5 separate regions of the Homo sapiens genome follow, and regions 1, 3, 4 and 5 are each linked to region 2. Evidence: promoter capture Hi-C in 16 types of primary human blood cells and fetal thymus (Javierre and others, 2016). All regions are on one chromosome and are shown on one strand. Each heading gives the region's core, a stretch centred on a gene start or on the middle of the fragment in contact. The rest is flanking DNA. Distances are from core to core; before and after follow the strand shown. Region 1 overlaps EPB41L4A (erythrocyte membrane protein band 4.1 like 4A). Region 2 holds the start of EPB41L4A (erythrocyte membrane protein band 4.1 like 4A). Region 3 overlaps EPB41L4A (erythrocyte membrane protein band 4.1 like 4A). Region 4 overlaps EPB41L4A (erythrocyte membrane protein band 4.1 like 4A). Region 5 overlaps EPB41L4A (erythrocyte membrane protein band 4.1 like 4A).

The links. Contacts are between HindIII fragments. The CHiCAGO score rates a contact against its expected background, and 5 or more counts as called.
Region 1: a contact is called between a fragment that was not itself captured here and the fragment with the promoter of EPB41L4A in region 2, in 5 of 17 cell types (endothelial precursors, erythroblasts, megakaryocytes and 2 more). The highest score is 20.4, in endothelial precursors.
Region 3: a fragment that was not itself captured here is called in contact with the fragment with the promoter of EPB41L4A in region 2 in 5 of 17 cell types (endothelial precursors, erythroblasts, megakaryocytes and 2 more); the score reaches 12.8 in endothelial precursors.
Region 4: a fragment that was not itself captured here is called in contact with the fragment with the promoter of EPB41L4A in region 2 in 1 of 17 cell types (endothelial precursors); the score reaches 6.2 in endothelial precursors.
Region 5: a fragment that was not itself captured here is called in contact with the fragment with the promoter of EPB41L4A in region 2 in 1 of 17 cell types (endothelial precursors); the score reaches 8.6 in endothelial precursors.

The regions. Positions count from the first base shown.
Region 1 is chr5:112,204,393-112,209,126 of GRCh38, forward strand. EPB41L4A (erythrocyte membrane protein band 4.1 like 4A) reads right to left here. Exons shown (of 23, transcript NM_022140.5): 14 at 1,029-1,112; 15 at 1-96. Among named protein-coding and RNA genes, the nearest start is that of SNORA13, 45 kb to the left of the region's middle. The HindIII fragment of the contact is 1,034 bases long and covers 1,111-2,144 here.
Region 2 is chr5:112,417,507-112,422,619 of GRCh38, forward strand. It overlaps EPB41L4A (erythrocyte membrane protein band 4.1 like 4A), which reads right to left and starts at 1,771. Exons shown (of 23, transcript NM_022140.5): 1 at 1,435-1,771. The coding sequence starts at 1,533. EPB41L4A-DT (EPB41L4A divergent transcript) reads left to right here and starts at 2,077. Exons shown (of 1, transcript NR_027706.1): 1 at 2,077-3,472. RefSeq lists a silencer at 2,436-2,525. The HindIII fragment of the contact is 9,034 bases long and covers 1-5,113 here.
Region 3 is chr5:112,186,800-112,192,048 of GRCh38, forward strand. The region is part of intron 17 of EPB41L4A (erythrocyte membrane protein band 4.1 like 4A); the gene reads right to left. Among named protein-coding and RNA genes, the nearest start is that of SNORA13, 28 kb to the left of the region's middle. The HindIII fragment of the contact is 2,049 bases long and covers 1,043-3,091 here.
Region 4 is chr5:112,241,354-112,246,266 of GRCh38, forward strand. All of the region lies in intron 9 of EPB41L4A (erythrocyte membrane protein band 4.1 like 4A), which reads right to left. The region is part of intron 1 of LOC101927023 (a long non-coding RNA gene); the gene reads left to right. Among named protein-coding and RNA genes, the nearest start is that of SNORA13, 82 kb to the left of the region's middle. The HindIII fragment of the contact is 564 bases long and covers 2,144-2,707 here.
Region 5 is chr5:112,221,197-112,226,324 of GRCh38, forward strand. All of the region lies in intron 12 of EPB41L4A (erythrocyte membrane protein band 4.1 like 4A), which reads right to left. Among named protein-coding and RNA genes, the nearest start is that of SNORA13, 62 kb to the left of the region's middle. The HindIII fragment of the contact is 2,862 bases long and covers 455-3,316 here.

The sequences.
Region 1 (4,734 bases), core at 378-2,877, 210 kb before region 2:
ACAGAATCATTGTCACTTCCACAGGAGGGGTTTCGGCGACGCGTGTAAGGGAACTTTGGCGACTTAGTGCGATCACTGGGAGAATTGTAGAGTCCACTGGAGAGAAAGAAAAATGGTCAAAAAGAGCCCAGAGAGTTCCTGGGGGAAAACACACCGCAGCCCAGACCTATTCATAACTGCACAGCTGGTACTTCCAGAGGCACATGCACCAGGGGCACGTGGTTCTCTTTGCTGACAAGATTTATTAAAAGAAAAGAGGTAAGATCTGGCAAATCAAATCATAAAGGTCATTATTTTGCAGGAATGCCATTTGTCTCACTAGCCTTCAGTAGTAAAAAATGAACACACACAAATAACAATAACAATTCATACATATGATGAATTTAGCCCTTTCTAAACACTGACTCAGCTAAAGACTTTACATTCATTATCTCAGCTAATCTTCATATCAGCCTTCAGCACTGAGATACAACTATTAAACCTATTAAACAGAAAAAAAATTGAAATATAGACTACTTAATTAAGTGGCCCAAATAAAGTAGCTAGGAAGTGGCAGGGCTAGAATTTGAACTATAAGTTACAACACAGGTCTGTCACTGGTTTGGTAGTTGTGACCAGAGATACACTAGACATATCCATATTTTTAGGAATAAAGGTCTTCCAGCATAACTATTCATCAGCTATAGTTTTTGACTTAAGTTTTTAACCAAAACTATGAAATGGGGAAAATTATTAATATGCCATTTAGAGTTTTCAGAAATATATTACCTTACAGGCAATTTCATAATATTTCCTAGGTTTCCCTTTTGCCTTTCCAGGAAAAAGTTTCATGTTATAAAACATACTGTTGATTTCCACTTCAGAAATCCCAGCCCCTCTCCCCTGGGTCACATTGATTTAGAGTCTGCCCACTTTATCCACAGCTAGCTGTGATCAGCCACCCAGCAGCTGGATTCCTTTATTCAATGAGCTGCATGTACTAACCCCTTTTCTACTGTCTCCTTTATAAAAACAATGATTCCCTTTACCTCTGGGGGCCATTTTCTTCCCACGGTGCATGAGATTTGCTTCTTTGGGTATCAGGGCTATTTTCATTCTTTGCTTTCTTAAAGCTTTAATTTTAAAAAAAAGTATGAGAAATAAATTAAGTAGAAAATAAAAGTAAACTCACATACTTATTTGTTAAGTAAAACTTTTTAACAAATGTTAAGATGTGCACACTTATTTGCTTGTTTATACCTGTGACTCTAAAAAGAACATGAAGTCGCTGCCCATAAAATCTGTCTCCAGCAAGTACCTTTGGGTCTTTCCCCCCTCTTTCTTTCTAGTTTTACTGCTTTAGTCAACAGATGCCAGGTCCATCAATTGTTAAGAAACTCTAGAGTCCACCTGCAGGAGAGGCAGCAAGGGGAACCACAGAGCCAAGAAAATAAGAAAGCCAAGGAGGAAGGACCTGGGCTACCCAGGATCTTCAGCCTGGCTCCCTTTTTACAACAGTGATCAGAGAAGCCCTTACTCCAGGCACGGGTCTGAATCCACACAGGTCGGTCAGCCCCGGGCAGGTTCAGGCTATTCAAACTGACCTTTTCCTGGCTTCCGCCTTATCTTGGCTTCATCCCTCCAGATGAGAATGACTTTCAAATGCTATTTCCTGACCTAGTATCATCTTTCAGTCCTAAGAATGTAAATGTAACTGAGTTGTTCTACCCTCAACAAATTGTTTTAGAAACCCCTGGGGAGACATGGAGGAAGGGACTAATCAGAAGCCTCCAGGCACCAGTGGGGAGGGGTGTGTCACCTCTCACATCCTCAGGAGTCTTAGCTTAAGATAAAGATAGAGCTATTTAACTCCAAATCCACTTTTAACCCTGGCTTTTTGAGGAATCCTCTGTATAACTGTCCTAGGATAGGGTCATAGAGGAGTACTTTGTAACAGCCAACAAAGAGGAGAGAGGAAAGATGACGAGGTATTAAAAAAAAAAAAAGACTTGCACCCTAGTATACTATCCATGATGGAATTAAAGTAAGCCTATAAAATTTTGTATCTGACAGAGGCATATAACCCATAGTATTAGTAGATGGCAGCTTAGTTTATTATTTTTATAAAGGCTAAAAACCTCTACAGATTCAATTCCCAAAGTAAAAGCTTACCTTTTGAAATGATGAAAATTAACAAATATGGCAGATATTTAATACGATAGTAGAAAGTGTATGGGATCAATAAATCAGAAAAAGCAAAGAGAAGGGAGAAGGGAGACTGGAAAAGAAATAGGGAGATAAAAGAGGAACTGAGAGAGTATACAAAAGTTAAAGAATAATAAAATCCTGGGTGACAAGTTAATTGCATTCACACCCTAAGGTATTTCTCATCTGAAGCTTGAGAGGAAAACTTTGGTGGTGCTTCAAGTACCAGTATCATCACAGGAATGTGGTTGCAAAGGGGATTGAAAAATATTGTTAAAATGGCCATACAGCCCAAAGCAATATACAGATGCAATGCTATTCCTATCAAACTACCAACATCATTTTTTCACAGGAAAGAACTATTCTAAAATGGACCCTCCCTCCAAAAAAGCCCAAACAGCCAAAGCAATTCTAAGCAGAAAGAACAAAGCTGGAGGCATCACACTACCTGACTTCAAACTGTACTACAAGGCTACAGTAACAAAAACAGCATGGTATGGTACAAAAACTGACAAAAAGACCAATGCAATAGGATAGAGAACCCAGAAACAAAGTCATACACCTACAACCATCTGATCTTCAACAAAAGCAACTAGAACAAGCAATGGGGAAAGGACTCCCTAAATGGTGCTGGGATGGCCAGTCATATGCAGAAGAGTGAAACTGGACCTCTTCCTTTTACTATATTCAAAAATCCACTCAAGATAGATTAAGAACTTAAATGTAAGACCTCAAACTATGAAAATACATCTTAGAAGAAAACCTAGGAAATATCATTCTGGACATCAGCCTTGGTGAAGAATTTATAACTAAGTCCCCAAAAGCAATTGCAACAAAACCAAAAATTGACAAGTGAGACTTTAAAGAGCTTCTGCACAACAAAAGAAACTATCAACAGAGTAAACAGACAATCTACAGAAAAGGAGAAAATATTCACAAACTATGTATCTGACAAAGGTCTAATATCCAGAATCTATAAGGAACTTCAACAATTCAACAAGATGAAACAAACAATGCCATTAAAAAATGGGCAAAGGACATCAACAGGCACTTTTCCAAAGAAGACATACATGCAACCAACAAATACATGAAAAAATGCTCAACATCATTAATCATTCGAAAAAAGCAAATTAAAATCACAATAAGACACCATCTCCCCAGTCAGAATACCTATTATTAAAAAGACAAAAAATAAAGATGTTGGCAAGATTGTGGAAAAAAGGGAACACTTTTACACTGTTGGGGGAAATATAAATTAGCTCAGCCATTGTGGAAAGCAGTTTGGAGATTTCTCAAAGAACTTAAAACAGAACCACCATTTGATCCAACAATTCCACTACTGGATATATACTCAAAGGGAAACAAATCATTCTACAAAAAAAGACATATGGCTGGGCGCAATGGCTCACACCTGTAATCCCAGCACTTTGGGATGCCAAGGCAGGCGGATCCCGAGGTCAAGAGATGCAGACCATCCTGGCCAACCTGGTAAAACCCCATCTCTACCAAACCTACAAAAATTAGCTGGGAGTGGTGGCACACGCCTGTAGTCCCAGCTACTTGGGAGGCTGAGGCAGGAGAATCGCTTGAACCCAGGATGCGGAGGTTGCAGTGAGTCAAGATGGTGCCACTCCACTCCATCCTGGCAACAGAGGGAGACTCCATCTCAAAAAAAAAAAAAAAAAAAGACACATACACTTACATGCTCATTGCAGCACTATTCACAATAGCAAGGACATAGAATCAGCCTAGATGACCATGAACAGTGGACTGGATAAAGCAAATATGGAACATATACACCATGGAATACTACACAGCCATAAAAAAGAATGAAACCATGTCCTTTGCGGCAACACGGACGCAACTGGAGGCTATTATCCTAAGTTAATTAACACAGAAACAGAAAACTAGATACTGCATGTTCTCACTTATAAGTGGGAACTAAACATTGAGTACACATGGACATAAAGATGGGAACAATAGACACTGGGGACCACTAGAGGAGGAGAGGGGGCAAGGGTTGAAAACTACCTATCACGTACTGTGCTCACTACCTGAGTGATGGGATCATGCATACACCAAACCTCAGTGATAAACAATTTACCCATGTGACAAACCTACTGGCACACGTACCCCTGGACCTAAAATAAAAGTTGAAAAAATAAATTTTTAAAAGGAGGATTGTACTCCTTCTGCACATTCTAAAAAAGCGTGGGATCTGAATCTCATGGAAGATTCCTGTTCTTATGCTGAACATACCACAAGCATACCCTGTACATACAGATGAAGCTGAATCTCTATCCACAGCTTGAGGGTGACTAAGGGAAATACAGTAAACTAAAGTTATGCAATGATAAAGAACTTGTCATCCTAAAAGGAGAACCAGTAAATGTCTTAGAACCAAACAAAACATAGGCAAATCCCTGCGTAAAATATTAAAACTCTGAGAATCTTCAGATCTTAAAGTTATCTTGCTGAGAAATTATGAACTATACTCCTCAAAGTAGCCACAATACAGCTGAATGAAGCCACTATTATTTACCAAAAAAA
Region 2 (5,113 bases), core at 521-3,020:
ATTTTATTCATACAGTACACCAAAGAATGTTACATCATCTTGTAAGTTACAATATTTTCCTGATTTCATTGGGCGGGTGAGAGGAGAAATATTTTGGAACATAAAGAAAAGTTAAAAATACAAAATGTACACCCTCCCCGAAAAGAGTCTATTTTATTGGTCTTGAAAGGAAATACCGAATGAGAATCGAACTGAATTTTGCTCAGTATAATTACTGGGGAAACAATATTCAAAACAACCTCCTAAAGGAAAGGGTTAACAATCTTGTAGCTTTAACTGATTATTTTTGCTCCTTTCTCCCGCAAAAGAATTACACCTATGAAACTGGAATTCTGTACACTAAGAATGGCAACATTAACGCTGAAACTTTTAGCCAGGAATAGTTATCCTAGTGTGCATAAAACTATGTAAAAACTGATTCACAAAAGGAAATGCCCAGGGCCTACCCCATTATGATTAACTTCTGAGATGAAGCGACTAAGAGAGGATACTTGGCAGCCTGAACTCGATTTCTCAGAAAGCCAGCTCTATCAGAGCGGGGGCGGGGGGGCGGTTTCCCTTCACCAGACTCAGCTGTTGCCTTATCTAAAATGCCTTAGCGATCTAAAACTGAAAGAGAAAGATAAACAAAACAACAAAACGCTCCGGATTTAGATCTCCTTTAGGTAGTTAACACTGTTGCAAAAGCAAAACAAGCACGCAGGCGCGTCGGTCAGGTTGTCACTACAAACATACGTACCTTCTCATCCAATGTAAGGAAGAGGATCTCTGCGAGCTCTGCTGCCTTTTTGTTTGGGCTCTCTAGGTTAATGTAGTGATTGCATTTTAATGACCCACAAACAGGAGCAAAGTTATTACTGGGTCGCTTTGAGAGATGTTTACTTAAATGTGAGGATAAACCCAGGTCGCTGTAGAAAGGGAAAATATTTTCCGTCCAAACGTAGCATTACCCAACTACGAACCCACGCAAAACAATCACAATGACCCATTAATGCGTTTCAACGAGTGAACTAGTTCACTTCCCTAATAACACTGTCAAGGAAAACGCCTTCAACAAAGTCGAGGGAAACCATGCCTTCCACACTGGTGGGACGCAGCTGGTATAACCCATTCTGCCCCTCTTTGAGAGCTGCGGGGCACCCAGAGGCTTTTGGAGAAAACCGGTTTGGGGAAGAGTTTTGGGGTGCTGCTGGGAGCCGGTGTGCTGAGTAAACTTAGAAACGTCAAACTCAACTTTGCTTTATGAAGGAACTCAAAGTTAACTCACCCTGGTACGTCCACCCTCTCCCTGCGCGCAGGGGACAGCGGCCTCTCCTCCCCACCGCGCAGAGTCGCGGCCGCCGCCCTCGACCCACCGGTGACAGCCCTCAAAGCGATGGACCCCCGCACCCGCCCTGCCGCCAACCCCCGGAACGCGCTCCGGGCCGCACCCACCTTGATGCCCTGCTGCTGGGTGGTAAGGGTTAACTTGGATTCATCCAGGAGCAAAACTTCGCAGTAAAATTCTTCCGGAACAGCGCAGAAACAGCCCATGTCGGTTGTGGTCGTCTCCAGCCAGGAGAGAAAGCTACCACCGAGGCGCCCAGCCGCCCCCTCCACTCAAGCGCGATGCATTAATTTATTGTCCGCGCCGTGGCGAGGGTGAGACGAGCAGCTCCCGGCGGGGTCCGGGGACCGGCCGCCGAACCGCCCGGCGGGGCGGGAGCGAGAAAGGCGGAAAAGCCCGGGAGAGTCAGCGCCCGGGAGCCGCCGGGGAAGCGCCGGCGGAACTGGGCGCGGAGGGCGGTGGCGCGTCCCCGCGCATCCTGCGGCTCGAGCTCCTCCGAAGGCGGGGGCGCGGGGCCCCTCCCGCAGTCCTGGGGACGACAAAAGTCTCCTGGCACTGGGGGCAAGAGACCAGAAAAAGGAGTGATGGGAATTCGAGGCTCTCCCCGGCCTTGGAAAACCCTGGAAGCGCTGCACCTCCCTCCTGCCGCACGGATTTGAGCGCGGCCCCGACGTCCTGGCGTCCGATCGGCCTGCGGAGTCCCCCGCGGGCGCGCACTTCCAGCCGCGACCCCGCCCCGCAGCCCCGGGTCAGATCCGCCGAGTATGAAGCGCTCGGCTTTTCTTTTGTGTGAGGAGCACCCACGACGCCCCGACCATGGGCGCAGGGGCAGAGGCGAAGGTCGTCGCTCCGTCCGCTACCCCGTCCCCCAGCCGCAAGCGCCGAGGAGCCGGAAGAGAGGCGGAAAGGGCAGCAGGCTCCTTACCCAGACCAGCGAGGGGAGGTCAGCTCGTCGCGGGGTGTGGCTCCCGTCCGGGGACTCCCGAGCTCATTACGGGTGGCCGTGTGTAGCCAAGTTCAAGCTCTCCCTCCGGGAATGCCTGCCGCGGCGGCGGAATACGGCTTCTTCAGGACATTCAGCAAAGCGGGGAGGCGGGGACCTGCGGGCGGAGGAGCGACGCCCCAGCTGGGAACGCGGCGGACGGGCGAGCGGGGGGTGCGCCCTGGGCGCGCCAGGCCGCAGAGGCTCCGGGGAAAGTTCTCTTGGCCGCGCGAGTGGTGGCGCCCCGGGCGGGAGCAGCCCAGGTGCATGTGGGCCCGGTCCAGGCGTCTGCAAAAAGCCCTGGAACGAAGCGGACCCCCCAGTCCAGCGCTGGCCGCGGCAGGGGAGCCCCTTCTGGGCGGGGTATCAGCTGGGGGCGGAGGGCGGGGCAGAGACCGTGGTCCCAGCGGCGAGGTGCCGGCGAGTCCACGCTGCCAAGCCGCACACTGCGCCCAAGCCGCGGGGCAGTCCAGCGCTCGCTGCGTCCTTCCCCCGAGAGACCTGGAGGCTGGGTGGGGAGAAGAGGACGCGGTGCTGCTCGGACCCCACGGTTCGGCGGTCCCAATCCCACGCCCTCCGCGCGGTCGGCCGCGTCCAGGACTGAGGGGCACAATAGCTCTGAAGCTGCAGTGACCCCTGGTGGGTCCCGATGTCCGTGCACAGGCAGCCGAGGTTGAGCTGCGGACGACACTGAGCCCCGCTGGGCTTCGGAGCAGGTGCAATCTGTGCTCTCCAGCTGGGAACCAGCAGCGAGTTAATGCGAGTCGCAGTTAGGGGAGACACGAGGGGAGGTGTCACAGAAAAAAAACTCTATATTGAGTTTTAGAGTTAGAGCTTTGGCATCAGACGTAGTTTTGAGTTGACTATTCTACTGCTTGTTAGCTGGGTAGCCAAAGCTCAAAAAAAATTGCTTAAAACCTAGGACGTTAGCCCTTAAAACAAAACCAGGCTTCCGTAGCACAGTAGAAATGAAATGAACAATTGGCGACTTTTGATGGAGTTTCCTCTCATAGTGATTTGCCACAAAGGACCTTCTGTAGGAAGCCTCGGCCTTCCCTGCTATTGTGACCCCATCCAAACACAGGATCAGCATAACCGCCAAAGTGCAATATAAATTTCTGAACTTTACCTAGGCTATGAATAAAACTATTTTATCTTCTGAATTTTCTGTGAAATTGACTCAGGTTTTGAATTTCTGATCAAATTTCGTGTCCAGCTTTGTTTTATTGTCAAAGTCTTGCCTGCCTTATGAGGTGACACCTTATTATGCTAGATTTTAGCATTTCTGCTTGTAGAGGCTTTTCTTTTCTGTAATACAGTATTCCTGACAGGAGTTACCAAATGTGATTGAAAGATGGCTTAACATTTTCATTCTTTACCTCCATATCCAACCGAGACACTTGAGGCTGCAAAAACAAAAGGTTCAAGCAATCATCTGTTCCCAGTTTTTTTGAGTTTTGCTCTCACCTGTTTTTTGGCCCTTTGATTTGGTTTTTTTGCTTTCTGATTTTTGGTTTTGCTGTTGTTTGTTTTTGTTTTTTTACCTCCAGTGGCAGTGAGAAGGCTGAGGGTTTTGGATGGGCAGGGATTCTGTTCCCAGCTCCTCATAAGGTAAGTTACAAAGCCATAAGGTCCCATACATATGACACTCTTTCCTGAGTGAAGCATTTTCTTTTCCATTTCTTTATCGGAGACTGGAGAAAAGAACATTTAAAATCTATTTAACACAAAATTAGAGATTACTAGTGACAAGAGGATTCCACAGAGTTTCTAAGGATAGCTTTATTGCATATAATTTACATACAGTTCACTGCATAATTTTTAAGTGTACAATTTGATAAGTTTTGACATAAGTGTGCACCCATGAACCCACCACCATAATCAAGCTAGTACACATATTCATCCCTCCCTAAGGTTTCCTCCTGCACTTTGTCATCTTTCTTTTTTTTTTTTTTTTTTTTGAGACAGAGTCGCGCTCTATCAGAGTGCAGTGGCGCGATCTCGGCTCACTACAACCTCCACCTGCCGGGTTGGAGCAATTCTCCTGCCTCAGCCTCCCAAGTAGCTGGGACTACAGGAGTGCGCCACCATGCCCTGTATTTTTAGTAGAGACAAGGTTCCACCATGCTGGCGAGGCTGGTCTCAAACTCCTGACCTCATGATCCGCCCGCCTCAGCCTCCCAAAGTGCTAGGATTACAGGTGTGAGCCACCGCGCCTGGCCACTTTGTCATCTTACACTCCCATTCCTCAGTACGACTCACCTCCCAGGCAACCATAGATCTGCTTTCTGTCACCATCATTTAGCTACATTTTCTAGAGTTTAATACCAATTGAATCATACAGTGTGAACTCTCCTTTTTGTCTGGTTTGTTTCACTGGACACAACTGAGATTTAACCATGCTGTTGTGAATATAAATAGTTCATTTATTTTTATTGTTCAATAATATTCCATTGTATGTATATACCACAATTTGTTTTTCCATTCATTTAGGTGGTTTCCAGTTTTTGACTATTACAAATAAAGCTGCTATGGGGATTGTATTAGTCAGCTCAGGCTGCTATAACAAAATACAGCAGACTGGATGGCTTAAACAACAGACATTTATTTTCTCACAGTTCTGGAGCCTGGAAGTTCAAGACTACTGTGCCATCATGGTCAGTTTCTGGTGAGGCACCTTCCTGACTTGAAGGAAGGCTCCAGGTTACTGTGTGCTCACATGACATCTTTGTGTGCTTTCAGAGAGAAGGGGAAAGGGAAGAGGAATAGAAGGAGAAGAGAGGGAGAAAAGGAGGGTGAGACAG
Region 3 (5,249 bases), core at 817-3,316, 230 kb before region 2:
AACCGCTCCAAAAAACACAGGTGCTACTTGGAAAGAAAAAAATCCTAGCCCTAGAAGCAAGAATATTGTAGCACTTTGTCCTTAAGAGGCAGGAGTAACTATTTTGTTTATGCATGAGTGAATAAAGAAATCTTTAAATGAAAAAGATATGTTTACTGTGATAATTCTGACTTTTTAAGTCTCATTTATTCTCAGGTATGGGGGATCCAAATAGTTTTTTGCTCCTTTCCTGCTCTATTTTAATCTCGATGTATAGATTTACATCATGAAGAATAAAATACCACAAACATTGTTTTGACATAGTACCTTTTAAAAAGTCAAAATGTGCTCTTACATCATAGTCATCAAAGTCTCAAAAAGGAAAAAGAGTCCGTTGTCATTTATGTTGTGGATCTATTAATTTTCAAATGTTGCATCTAAAGGTGAACCTCAATAAACTAACAAACATTTATTTCCAGTACTAATTGATCCAATAAGTCTACATTTATCCTATTTTGTCAATTTCTCCATCTGTAACTATGGAGGGTCAACAACTGTGGTAGGAAGTATATCATAACAAGGTTTTTGTTTTTCAGTTAATGTATAAGGGAGAGGGTTGCTTTAGAATACAGCAAATTCTAACCATGTTTCAGAACAGAATTCTAATGTATTTCTTCCATCTCTTACCAAACTTCAACACTCTACTTTTCCAGACTATCCATACAATTTAGATTTTAACTGCATTTGACATTTAATTAAGGTCTGCAAAGGTTTTGAAGATGAAATGCCATATAATCATTTGATAACAATGAAGAAAATGACTATTCCTAGCCTCTTCTTTCCTGTCTTACCAATTACAGTCCTTCCTCTTTTGCAAAATTCTTCACATTACCAATGAATTCTTACACAAATCCCCGAGTTTTATTGTGTCCTCTCCCTTTAGCAGTTTTGCTCCTAACAGAACCTTTCTTTACATAAGTTCTTAATTCACTTCTAATTCACTGAGATAAACACCATGCTTAATGCTGAATCTAAGAAGTCTTTCAGAGAGAATGTAAAATGAAGCTTCAAGATGATACAAGCCATAAACATTGCTCCTGAGTTTTCTCCATTCCCAGCTCTGCCATTATCTGACTCAGAGACCTTGGACAAACTGCTTATCTTTTTTGGTCAAGTCTCAGGTTGTTCATATATAAAATTATGGCAAAGATCCTTTCTAGCTTTAAAACTTGATGTTTCTCTATTTGTATTTTATTTCCAAACCAGACAGACACACTGAAAGAAACTTACACTCTTCAACTATAGCATAACATTCCAGACAATTGCTTCACATGGCCCCTCCATTGCCAAAATTAAATCTGCAGGCCCCAACTGATTGTGAACTTGTGTTTCTCATCAACTGTACTCATTTTTTTTGGATCACCTGCTATAAAGCAATCTTTTTTTTTTCTAGTTTTTCTTCCCTAGGGAAATGTATGTTGGTTCCAGGCATGTGTCGACATACTCCCTTAAGACCAGCAAGCAAAAAGTTCATTTGCTTTTCCCATTGTCTCTACCATCAATAAATTATTCTTATTTGCTCTTAAAGGTACTTCTGTCTCTTCCACTTATTCCTTACGTGCCCACTACTACAATGGGCTACCTCTGGCGCAATTTCCCTTTCAAACTCTCCTGTTTTCATGAATTTTTAACCTATTTTGCCCTCACTCAGTAATGTAACAGCATTCCTCAGTTGCTGCGGCTTTGTCCTTCCACAGTCATCTCTGCCAACCTTGATTATACTCTGGAAGCCCTAAATCAACCATATCAAATGTCTAAATCTTGATATATCCTATTAAAGTAGAAATCAGAAACCCTTGCATCTGCAGTACGGTGAACACTGTTTCCACTAGCTTTGTACGAACTCTTCTCTCCGTACCCAAAATTTTTACCTCGTTTGCAGCCCCTAAATCAGGGGCAGGACAGTAGGCAGTTCCTGGCAAGGAAGCGGTTACCTATTTTCAAGCAAGACGGAAGAAATGCCCATCAGTTTAAGTTTGCTAACATCCCAAATATATTTTTTCCCTAGGGTACAGGGACAATAAAGTTCTTCTTTACCACTCCCAAAACAAAATCCTACCAAAATTGTGATCTTCTAGATTTGCCCTAGTCAGATATATTGTCCCTCTTACAGTGCCAAATTTCTCACACAGAAATGTGCTTCCTCATTTTAGAAAAACAATATAAAAGACCTTATGGAACATAATTAAAATATTTAAATCTGTCTTAATCTACTATTTAGATACTGTAGACATCTGGTAGACCCTAAAAGACATCTAAAAGACCCCAATGTTGTTAGGGAGAAACTAGCAACATTCATGCCAGAACAAACTCATGTTAGAAAACACTGACTTATTTCTTGTTCAAGGGAGCTGGTCCCCATTTTACAGATCCTGCAGGAACTTCAGAAAATACTGAGCAGTGCTGGATGTTATCAATTTAACAGAACTTGCCTGTGCAGGGCACTTTCTACTTTTCAAAGCACATCTATTATCTCGGGAACTTCACAAACCTCTAGTGAGGTAGGCAGGTCAGGTATTATTCCACTTTGCATGTGAGAAATGAAGATTCACAGGATAAAGTAACCAGCTCAAAGCCACAGAATTCTTCAAAGTGGGTTCAATTTCATAGTACAGGCTCCCAGATTTGCATGTACATATATATGTACACAAACATGCAGCCTGACACTGACGTACATGACTCATGTTTATGATGCAAACATCCTAGAATAAAATTAGGGAAACGTTCAAATAGTCCCCTGTTGTCAATTTCCTCTAGTTCTACTATTACCCTAAGCTGCTCTCGTTTCTCTGTTTTAATACTTGGTAGGCTCCCAAGTTATTTCTACTTTTATGCTGATGGAAAAAAACGCACCAGACTATCTCATGTCACCCACTCCTCCACATCTCCCACTTCCAAACTTCTAAGAGCCTAGAAACACATCAAAGGTAATGAATGAATGAGTAATTCAAAGATTCTCCTCAGTGAATGCTCAAAGGACTGCTGATTTTCATCAATAGCACAAAGGATATTTTGTAGAACCTTTTCCTTGAATGTCAAGGATATTTTATTAAGCTTAAGACATATCCAGGTAAAGCTAGTTCATCAAAGGTTTCACTCTCCTAAGTCTACTTGCGAGGTCCTCCTTCATCCTACACCCTGGGCAAGTCCAGCACATGGCCCATGGTCTCAAACCTACAGCAATAAGCGAGCTGCTGGCCCTTCTGATCTCAGGGACGAGATTCAAAATTCTAACTAATAGAATCTAATATTCATGTAGATTAACTTTATAGTGCCTTGTACTAGGTAGGTTCCCAACTTCAAGAATTCAATAGAATCAACTGTTTCACAAATTAGTATAGCAAAGTAATCTCTAAAGAAAGTTTAGGCATTTTAGTTTTTAATCCTACCAGTGAATTGAAACACCAATTTCATTTCCCAGTAACAATGTAATCCTTCACTATTTAGATGATAAAACTTTGTAAGTTTTAAGGGGGGGGTGTTACATAAACACCCCCTTATGAATCTGATAAAAACTACAGACCCTATCTTTAGAAAACTACGCACTTGACGCCCACATACAATTTTACATACAATTTCATGGGGTTATGAAACCCCCAGCACCTACCCATGAATCACAAGTTAAGAATCCTGGTGTAAAAATAACCAAAGGTATAAAGTTAGGAAAGGTGGGAAAATGAAACATAGGACCAAAAGAAAAGTTGGAAGAGGATGGAGGAGAGGACAGGAGATGCCGTAGCAGTGAGTAACTCTGGAAGTGGGTATAGGACTACGTGGCTCTGTACTTCAAAGTGCTCTCACTTCTTACATTTCATTTGATCTTTACAGTAACTCATTCAACAAAATGGATCAGTTGTTATAGCATACCTCCCCCCACTCCCTGCCAACTTTAAAGAGAAAAAAACTAATACTTGAATTGGTTATACAAGTTGCCCAAGGTCAAGTATCAGCACACAGCAAAACCAAGACCCAGTCCCAAGTCCTCAGGTTATTCTGTGTCATACCATTGGCTCCTAGGGAGAGAGGGAATTCAAAGGAAACAGAAGAAAGAAAAAAGACTGGAAAGGAAGCCCAGGAAACAGAAAGGAACTGGGTGAGAATAATATGATATAAAAAGTGAAAAGTGAAGCAAGAGAATGGAGAGGGAGATGAGGATGTAGTAGAGAAACTAAAAGGAGAAATAAGAACTTTCTGTCATCTTAAATATTATTAAAAAAAACTGTGCCTCCAACTTCTATCTGGTTATAAAAAGAGAGTGAAAAATTATCATCTCAAATCTCAAAACCTAGAAAGCTGTAGGATACCCAACCGGATTATGAGAACAGTAAAGAAAGAATAAAGTGGAAAGGGGTAAGGGAAAACATAAACGATGTCCCAAATAAAGAAGCAGGGTGAATTACTCTGGTGTTCTAGGAAACACGGTAGGATGAAGCCCTACAGTTAGGGCACAATTAACACAAGGGCCCTTACACACAGAGCCTTGTTAGCTCTGGACCCAAAGGGGACAGACAGATGGGGTGGTTATTTACAGTTATATTTTCCTAAAATTGAAACTAAACAACAATCTTTGCTTCTAACATTAGCCTTCCAGAGCTGGTGTGGATTATTATTTTTTAAAATTTAATGGTTGTCAAAAGCCTGTTTTGGGTAAAGTTGATTCATAAATGTTGTTTTATTAACTTTTCTTTCTCTTCACACAAAATGAGAAATGTTTAAATGGTTATCCATGGAAACAGTAAAGCAGCTTATGCTCCAATGGGTTGACTTCGTGGAAAAAAGAAAACAATATTTCCATGGAGTGGCCTCATGCCTAACAGAAAAGACCTCATTTATGTTTAAAAAAAAAAAAAAAATCCTGCAAGAAGGAGTAGCAGAGGGAGCAACATCCCAAAGACCACATGCAACTTCCAGAAAGTAAAAGTGACTCTGTCCGGAGTTCCAATGGATACATCACGGGCTCCAAAAGAGGTTCTAAAAAGCAAATTTGCCCGGTAGTTGTCCCTCTCCATAGGCTACAGTTTCCTAGAGACAGGAAAGCAGGGTGCATCGGCGTGCAGGCTTTTCTTGGAAAGTAACGAAGCAACCTGGGGCTGAGTTTAGAGACCTTATGGGCAAGAGGTAGAACATCAGCATGTACAAGATTCTGTTTGCCCCATTATTGGGTTACCGGAGTGCTGTAGTAAAAGCACAAAGGACACTGCTGAGAACTG
Region 4 (4,913 bases), core at 1,176-3,675, 180 kb before region 2:
GATCAAATTCAACAATATGCATACATAAAATATCATATAATAGGTGTATAATACATGCTAATTATTTTAATCCAGTAGTTATTTGATTCTCTATATTTAATAAGTAAGAAATAAAACAACATTGAAGGTACAAATCAGCCCTCTATATCCACAGGTTCCACATACACAAGTTAGCCAAACTTGAATCAAAAATATTCAGAAAAAATAATACAAATTTAAAAAGCAATAGAGCATAACAACTATTTACATAGCACTTAGATTAGGAATCATAAGTAATCTAAAAATGACTTAAAGTATATGGGAGAATGTGTGTAGGTTATATGCAAATACCATGCCATTTATATAAGGAATTTGAGCATTCTCGGATTTGGGAGGAAGGTTTCTGAAACCAATACCCTGTGGATGCTGAGGAACAACTGTACAAGCATACCTTGGAGATACTATAGGTTCAGCTGCAGACTACTGCAATAAAGTGAATATTGCAATAAAGTGAGTTGCACATATTTTTTGGCTTCCTAGAGCAGGTAAAAGTTGCTTACATTACACTGTAGTCTATTAAGTATATAACAGCATTAGGTCTTAAAAAAACATATATACTATAATTTAAAAATACTTCATTGGTGAAAAATGGTAAAAGTCATCTGAGCCTTCAGGAAGTCATAATCTTTTGGTTGGTGGAAGGTACTGCCTCAATGTTGATGGCTACTGACTGACCAGGGTGGTAGTTGCTGAAGGTTAGAGTGGCTATATCAATTTCTTAAAATGAGACAACAATGAAGCTTTCTGTGTTAATGGACTCTTCCATTGAAGAAAGATTTCTCTGCAGCACGTGATATTGTTTGATAGCATTTGACCCACAGTAGAACTTCTTTCAAACTTGGAGTTAATCTTCTCAAACCCTACCACTACTTTATCAATTAAGTTTGTGTAATATTTTAAATCCTTTGTTGTCATTTTAAAAATGTTCACAGCATCTTCACCAGGAGTAGATTCCAACTCAAGAACCACTTTTGTTCATTCATAAGAAGCAACTCCTTATTCCTTCAAGTTTTATCATGGGATTGCAGCAATTAAGTTATACCATCAGGCTTCACTTCTAATTCTAGTTTTCTTGCTATTTCTACCGCATCTGCAGTTACTTCCTTCACTGAAGTCTTGGACCCCTCAAAGTCATCGTGGGGGTAGAAATCATCTTCTTTCAAACTCCTGCTAATCAGAATAATTTGACCTCCTGCCATAAATCATAAATTATCTTAGGGGCATCCAGAATGGTGAATATTTTCCAGAAGTTTTTCACTTTGTTTGTCCAGATCCATTAGAGAAATCATTATCTATCGCATCTATAGTTTGTAGAAAGTATTTCTTAATACTTGAAAGTTGAAGTTACCTCTTGATCCATGGGTTGCAGAACAGATACTGTGATAGCAGGCTTGAAAGCAACATTAATCTCCTTGTACATCTCCATGATAGCTCTAGAGTAACTAGGTGCACTGTCAATGAATAGTAATATTTTGAAAGGAATCCTTTTTTTTCTGAGCAGTAGATATCAACATTGGGCTTAATATATTCACTAAGCCGGCCCAGGAGTGGTGGCTCATGCCTGTAATCCCAGCACTTTGGGGAGCTGAGGCAGGCGGATCACCTGAGGTCAGGAGTTCAAGACCAGCCTGGCCAACATGGCGAAACCACATCTCTACTAAAAATACAGAAATTAGCTGGGCATGGTGGCAGGCGCCTGTAATCCCAGCTATTTCGGAGGCTGAGACAGGAGAATGGCTTGAATCCGGGAGGCAGAGGTTGCAGTGAGCCGAGATCGTGCCACTGCATTCCAGCCTGGGTGATAAGAATGAGACTCTGTCTCGAAAATATATATATATATATCTATGTATATATACACACACACACATATATATATGTGTGTGTATATATATATATATATTTTGTTTGTTTGTTTGTTTCCTAAGCCATGCTGTAAATAGGTGTGCTGTCATCCAGGCTTTGTTTTTCCATTTATAGAGCACAGAGTACAGTTAGCATCATTTGTATAGAACCCAGAATTTTCTGAATGGTAAATGAATATTGGCTTCAACTTAAAGTCACCAGCTGCAGTAGCACCTAAAGAGACAGTCACCCTGTCCTCGGAAGCTTTAATGCAGGCATTGACTTCTCGTTATAGCTATGAAAGTCCTAGATGGCATCTTCTTCCAACAGAAGAAGGTTGTTTTGTCTCCACTGAAAATCTGTTGTTTAGTGTAGCCACTTTCATCAATAATCTTAGCTAGATCTTCTGGATTACTTGCTGCAGCTTCTAAATCAGTACTTGCTGCTTCACCTTGTACTTTTTATGTTATCGAGATGGCTACTGTCCTTCAACCTAATGAACCAACCTCTGCTAGCTTCCTACTTTTATTCTGCAGTTTCCTCACCTCTCTTAGACTTCACAGAATTGAAGAGAGTTAGAGCCTTTCTCTGGATTACAGACTTTGGTTTAAGGAAATGCTGCAGCTTGTTGGATCTTCTATCCAGACCATTCGAACTTTCTCCAAATTAGCAGTAAGACTGTTTTGTTTCTTATTATTTTTGTGTTCACTACAGTAGCTCTCCAAATTTCCTTCAAGAATTTTTTCTTTGCATTCACAACTTGGCTAACTGGCACAAGAGGCCTAGCTTTCAGCCTATCTCACCCTTTAAGATGACTTCCTCACTAAGCTTAATCATTTCTAGCATTTGATTTCAAATCACAGATGCACAACTATTCCTTTCAGTTGAACCCTTAGAGGTTATTGTAGGGTTATTAACTGACCTAGTTTCAATATTACTGTTTCTTGGAAACTAGGGAGGCCTAAGGACAGGGAGAGAGACAGGGAATGGCCAGTCTGTGGAGCAGTCAGAACACATGCATCATTTATCAATTAAGATCGCTATCTTACATAGATGCAGTTTGTGGCACCCCAAATCAATTGCAACAGTAACATCAAAGATCACTGATCACAGATCACTATTGAAGTGGCTACACTGTCTGGGGTATATACCTTGGGGTTCATTGTCACGCATTGAGAAAGAATTCAGGTGGGTTAAGGGGTGGAAAGTTTAATAGAGAGAAGAAAGGAGGGAGGAGGGCAGCTCCCTGAGAAAGAGAAAGAGACGTCTGAAAAAGGCTGGGAGGCCATGGACCACAGCAGATTTTATAGGCAGGCTGCAGAAGGCGGTGTCTGATTTATATAGGGCTCACAGATTGGTTTCATCAGATATGATGTCTACATAGTGTGCGGGGAAGGCTGGTCACCCTACCGTAATCTTCTTATGCAAATAGGCTTTCCAGTTGATCTGCGCCATCTTGTCTGCTCCTTTATAGTATGTGTGGCTGGCAGAGAAGGGAAGATGGACCCACCATTTTGAAAATGTCTAGTCCTTAGTTCCTGCTGGCACCCACCTGTGCAAGCTCCTAGCTTGCAGGGTGCTCTTTGTTAGAAAATGATTCAGGACTGCTTTTCATTAGAAAGTAGAGCCTTATCAAGCGCCCGTGCCCTTGTTATCTACCTAATTCCTTCTTAGCTCCTGTATCATTATAACGTATGTAATAATAATGAAAAAGTTTGAAATACTATTGCAAGAATTACCAAAATGTGACACAGTGACACGAAGTGAGCATGTGCTTTTGGAAAAATGCTACCAACAGATTGACAGGGTTGCCACAAATCTTCAATTTGTAAAAAAAACACAGTATCTGCAAAGCACAATAAAGTGAAGTGCAAAAAAAAAAAAAAGATATGCCTGTAATTCTAATTTTGCAGAAAATACTATTTATATTTTAAGTAACTGAACAGAAAACTAAGCAAAACACAATATGAATGCTAACACAATAAACCACAAGCTCTGTGAAGTTATATACTTGCTAATTTAATTTCAAAGCTACAAACCAAACTCAAGTCTCAAATGCAGCAAATGCCTCTGAAATGAGGTTTCTACGGACTCATAAACATAAAACAATCAATGCAAAAGAATAATTGAAATGATTTGTCTCCTACTTTTAATAAGGACAGAATATTTATATGTATAAAATTTCTCCCAAGTCCAACTTGAATGATGCTGCCCAACTTAGGAGTTTATTTGTAAGATGAAGAGATGTGATGGAAACAAAGCCAACATGCACACATTACAGCAAGGCTATCTGTAATTCCAAAACCTTGTCTGGTAAAAAAAGAAAGGAACATTTTCAGGTTTCTGGCTCGGGTGCTACTAAAATATAGCAAGTGGAAAAAATGGGCATTTGGATGACAAGGGAATAGACAATAAGTTCAGGTTGAAATATTCTGATTTTGAGGTCCCATGGGACACCTAGAGGGCCAAAGGATGCAGGTCAGAGAGCCAGAGAGAGGGCACATCTACTCACACAGGTGATCTCACCAAGTGAACAAGACTGCTCAGGGAGAGTGCGCAGAATGGATGAAGGTGGAATCACTGCAAAGACGCTCCTGAAGGTGGAGTGAGAGAGGTCCAAACATACCAGAAAAGAGTGTCAGAGAGGCTGGGAAGAGAGAGTGCAACTCTCAAGTGACCCAGAAAAGTCAAATCGAGTTTGAAAGGAGGTTACCACATTTCACGGTAAGAAATCTTCCGAGGCCTTTGTGAAAGGGATAGGGATTATACAATTAGAGGTGAGGAAGAAAAGTCAATGAATTCAGAAAGTGTTTTCCTTAGCAGCAAAAGAAACTGGTGGCAGAGCTGGGAAAGGGGACACACAGAAAATCACAGAAGCTCCTCCGGGCAGGGAGGGAAAGCCCAGGCTTTTGTCAGAAGATAGGAGCCCTTAGGGAGAAATTTTTTTTTCTTTTAGTTTTCTTTTTTTAAATATCCAGTCATGCGTTGTATAAGGATGTCTTGGTCAATGATGGATCGCATATACAACAGCG
Region 5 (5,128 bases), core at 636-3,135, 200 kb before region 2:
TCCATTAAAACCCCCTTCTTTTGCAATAGCATCATGGACTGCCTCTAGCCATAAGCAAATTATCCTTCCGGACACTTAGAACTCTGTCAGTGCTCCACTCTATGCCACTTGATATGTCCTGCCTGCATTCCAGCATTGCTTCTCTAGTCTTGCAAAGCAGCTGGTTAAGTGTACAAGGTTGAAAGTCCAACAAACTTAGATTTATTTCTCAGCTCTGCCAGTTTACCCATTGTAAATTGATCCTGTGATCTTGGACAAGTTATTAAACTACTTTGGGCCACAGTTTTCTCCTGTGTAAAATGGGAACACCACTAACTACTTATATAGTGCACAGCTGGATTAAATTAGACAATTTATATAAAGCCTTTAGCACTGTGTTTGGAATTTAGTAAGTGCTAAATAACTGACGGCTGTGTTATTTGTATATGACTTAGTTCCTACAGATTAGGGGCCAAGCTTTATTCCATTTTCTGTGCTCTATAAAATAGGGTCTTATGCCAAAGAGGTGCCCAATAAATTCTTGTTGAATAAGAAGAAAAAGAAAAAAGGTGTCATTTATGGTAACTCACTAAAGCTGTGATTTTAACTTGAATATATAATAGCCCTTTCATTTTGCTTGCTTTTCTAATTTTCGTAGCTATGTTTGGAATGCTAAACACTCCCAAGAAGACTGAAAACATTAACTTTTTAGAGAAAATCTAACCAGACTCGCCATACATTAATAAATCTTTTACAGATGGAAAATAAGCCTAAGTTTCAAGGCAGAATAGAAAAGGATGCCAACAAAGGCTAACAGCCTGCAACAAACATACACCTGACTATATGGTCTACCTAATGCTCCTTGCAATTAACAGTTACTGCCTTTCCCCCTCTCTCTTGGCTAGGTAAGATGCCCCAAAGAACTTACACATTTTCTTCTAAAAATGGCTTAAAGTAAAAGTAGGCTGACTCTGACTATAAATGAGCAGAATGTATGGTCTTCTCAAGAGTATTTGTTGAAAACAAGTTAGAGCTACTGAAGAAATCACACATGGGGAAAAAACAGAAGTTGTATATTTTCAAATCATTCTAGACCTTTCACCTTTCTTAACTTCCATTTACTTTCCAAGCATGTACCATAGTATCCCAAAGACCTGGGTTAGGATCCTGGCTTTGCGCTTACTGCCTGTGTAATCTCAAACAAGTACTTAATGTTTCCATGCCTCAGTTTCCTCATCAGTAAGATGAGACTACCACCCATCTTTCTCATGGGGATACTGAAAGGGTTATACCCAGTAATGTTATCCACTGTTTTCATGCAAGGAAATCAGCTCAAATTAGAAAGGAATTCATGGTGAATGCACAACAGGATCTCACAGACTTCAGTTCATAGCTACTAAGCCTCCCTTCCCCTCTCTTCTCAAAGCTGTGTGATTCTCACAGTGAGCCAACTCCATTCTTCTTTCTCTGCAAACCAGCTTCTCTGTTCAAAGCTGTACCTGGTACCTGGACCGTAAAGCAGCCCCAAAAGGCTTGGTTGTCCCCAGATAACTGACTCATCTGCTGGACTGCACATCATCTTTTCTGGAGAAGGAATCTGGGCGGTTTCCTCAGAGGCCCCATTCTTACCCCAGGAGAGAAGAGAGGAGCAAGTCCACTGTTACAGAGGGCTCTTCCTCCACCCCTTCTGGACTCCTGCTCCAAAGACCAGCACAGTGCCAGTGACCCAAGGGCCAAGCAGGGCACCTGCTCCACAAGTGAAACTAGTTTTTTTTTTTTTTTTTAAGATGGAGTCTGGCTCTGTCGCCCAGGCTGGAGTGCAGTGGCACAATCCCTGCTTGCAACCTCTGCCTCCCGGGTTCAAGCGATTCTTGTGCCTCAGCCTTCCAAGTAGCTAGGACTACAGGTACACACCAACCATGTCCAGCTAGCTTTTGTATTTTTAGTAGAGACAGGGTTTCGTCATGTTGGCCAGGCTGGTCTTGAACTCCTGACCTCTGGTGATCTGCCCGCCTTGGCCTCCCAAAGTGCTGGAATTACAGGATTGAGCCACCGTGCCCGACCGAAAGTAGTTTCTTTCTTCTTTACCTCACCTATCTCTCCCTATAACCTACCAAAATAACCCTGAACTCTGAGAACCCCCAAAATCTTTAACATTGATATTAATAAGTAATGAGTAACTTATGGCCAAACAGAGCCAATAAAAAAATCAATCCCAGAGTTTTCAAAGTCTGAAGAAAATACTGGCATAGAAACCATCACCTCAGAACAATGAATTCTGATAGTAAAGCAAAGGTGTGGAATCCTCAGATGCCATCTACTCAGGAATATCTATCCCCAAAACAGAATCCCAAACCGCTGACAGACACACCCTCCAGCCCCCACCTGTCAAGAACAGGAGGGGTAAAAAAACAGGTAAATTTGCCCAATGCATTAGTAAAATCAAGAATTGCAACAACAAACAACTGCCGAGGTAGAGCCAATTCCCACTGCTGACTTCCAAAAGAAGGAGCAGGTTCAAGAAACGACTAGTCTAAGGTTGTGTTCACACACAACTCAAAGGCAGAGACAAAGCTATGCAAAAACTTTCTAAGAAGGAATGTCTTCTTTTTATTTTTACCCAGAAAGACAGCACTTTTTAACTATGAGTTAACCAAACAGGCAAAATCTCATATTCATCTCGTCAGTTTGGACTAAAAGAATAATTTTTAAACTGTAATAGAGCCATGGTTAAAGTTAACTTTATTCAATTTGTCAATAAGAGTTTCATTTGAACTTTAGGCTTTTTTCTTTTGAGACGGAGTCTTACTCTGTCACCCATACTGGAGTGCAGTGGCGCGATCTCGGCTCATTGCAGCCTCCGCCCCGCAGGTTCAAGCGATTCTTCTGCCTCAGCCTCCTGAGTAGCTGGGATTACAGGCGCCTGCCACTGCGTCCGGCTAATTTTTGTATTTTTAGTAGAGACAGGGTTTCACCACGTTGGCCAGGCTGGTCTTACACTCCTGACCTTGTGATCCACCCACCTCAGCCTCCCAAAGTGCTGGGATTACAGGTGTAAGCCACCGCATCCAGCCTGAGATGTTTTAAAGAATTGGCTAGAAGGTTTTTCCAAACACAAAAAGTACTGTGTATTTCCAATGGCAAAACTACATTTTATAATCTGGGAAGATCTTTTTCACAACTTTGCAAGACTTTTGAAATGGTAAAAACCCATATACTTAAAAAAAAAACTTTCTAAAATTCCACTGTATCTATTTTTCATATTTGGTCCTTCCAACTCTGTGGGCAGGTAAGTCAGACAGAATAAAGGAATTTTAGAAAGAAGAGGAATCTTTAAAGCTTACATACCCAATTATTGTATTTTATGGATAAAGGGATGAAAGCTGAGAATGCTGAATGACAAGTTACAGGTCACAACCAAGGCAGACCAGGAATTCAGGGCTACTCAAATCAGGTACAACTTTCACACTCTTTTTTTTAAGCTCCCCTACCACCCCACTAAGTCGCTTCTCAATTAAATGGCTTAAATAATCAGTCAAGAGGTAATTTAAACATCCCTCAGAGCAGAGGTTCTTACAAAGGAGAGAGGGAGGGACCACAGACTTGGACCATAACTCAGTCAATGGTCTAATTCTGATCTGTGCACTTGGAAAAGAAGAGCCACAATCACACTTTTGCCAAAACAAAGCTCCTCCACCATATTTTCAGAAATCATCTCCATAGCCACCCATATAACAATTCTAGGTCAGAATGTCTTGTTCTAACCCTTTTGTATGAAAATTTATACTAACTTCTTCCTTTTTCTGACCCAGAAGAAATAAACAAAAACTTCACAATACCCGTCAAAGGCCGGATAGATGTGAGAGCTATTATTATGTTACTGTCTTTTCCCAGTTTCTTTACCCTCTCTTTTCCCAAACATTCCTCCTTGCTAAGTGATTCTCATCCAGACATCCTCCACATTCTAGAACTTGCTACACCTGCAAATCATCACTTCTTTGGGTGAAAAACACAAAGCGTCCTCTACTTCATTTAATCCAAAGACTCTATACCATGAGTCTTCCTCATGAAATGGAGCACCCTCTGGCTTGAGGACTTATATGCCATCTTATGTACTTTAATCCTGGACTTATGCCCCTCTCCTTGAAGACTCTGGTTGTGTCTGCTATAACACAGGAGAAATTCCTAACATTTGAGTTTTGTACAATTGATCTTATATTGCTCTTTCTCTGTAAATCACAATGATCTAGGGTAAGAACAATGTCTCAGCTCTGAGCTTATTGAGAATGTCTCTATTGGAAATGTGGATGAGCATTTGTGAACTTCATGCATTCATGACAGTAATCTGTAGGGCTTTTGAAAAGTGCTTGGTAAAAATTCAAATGAAAATAAATCTCTCTCCCACTGCCAATCCCCATTCTCTCAGAAACGCTTCCCAAAGGCCACTACTGTTACTAGTTTCTAATGTATCCTGCCTGCAAGTATTATCTGCATGCATACTTTCCCACCCAATTTGTCTTTGTATATAATGGTAACACATTAAATACTACCGGGCCCCTCTGCTTCTCTGCCCCCACCATTTATATACCATATCCTGGAGATCATTTCGTATCTGTACATACAAATGTAACACATTCTTTCTTAGTCTTTCGTCTCTATATTGTAGACTGTAACTGACCTGTGTTCATATCTCAGCTTTGTGACTCTGTACAAGTCTCAGCCTCTGCTTTCTCACCTAAACATTGAGAATTACAGCATCTTCTAAAAGAGTAAGCTACTATCTGCAGAGTGTCTAGCACAGTGCCAAGCACATGGTAATGCTCAGCGATCATTAGTCCTGACATTCCTCTCCTTTGGTGGGCTCCTCATGGGGCCTGGCCTTTCATAGCAGATACTGTGGGACTATGGAATCAGATTGACACAAGCTCCAATCCTGCTCTCAGATTTCTTGTAACAGAGACATGGTATTTCATGTGGGGCAGAGGCTGGGGAACATATATTACTTTATTAGGCCAGTTTCTTTCTAATGGATATTTAGGTAGTTTCCAGTCTCTGTGATGACAAACAACACAGGAGTAGTTCCGCTGATATTATAGAAGTGACGTATTTGATCTAATATCTTCCTGGACAAACTCAGAGATTGGGGACT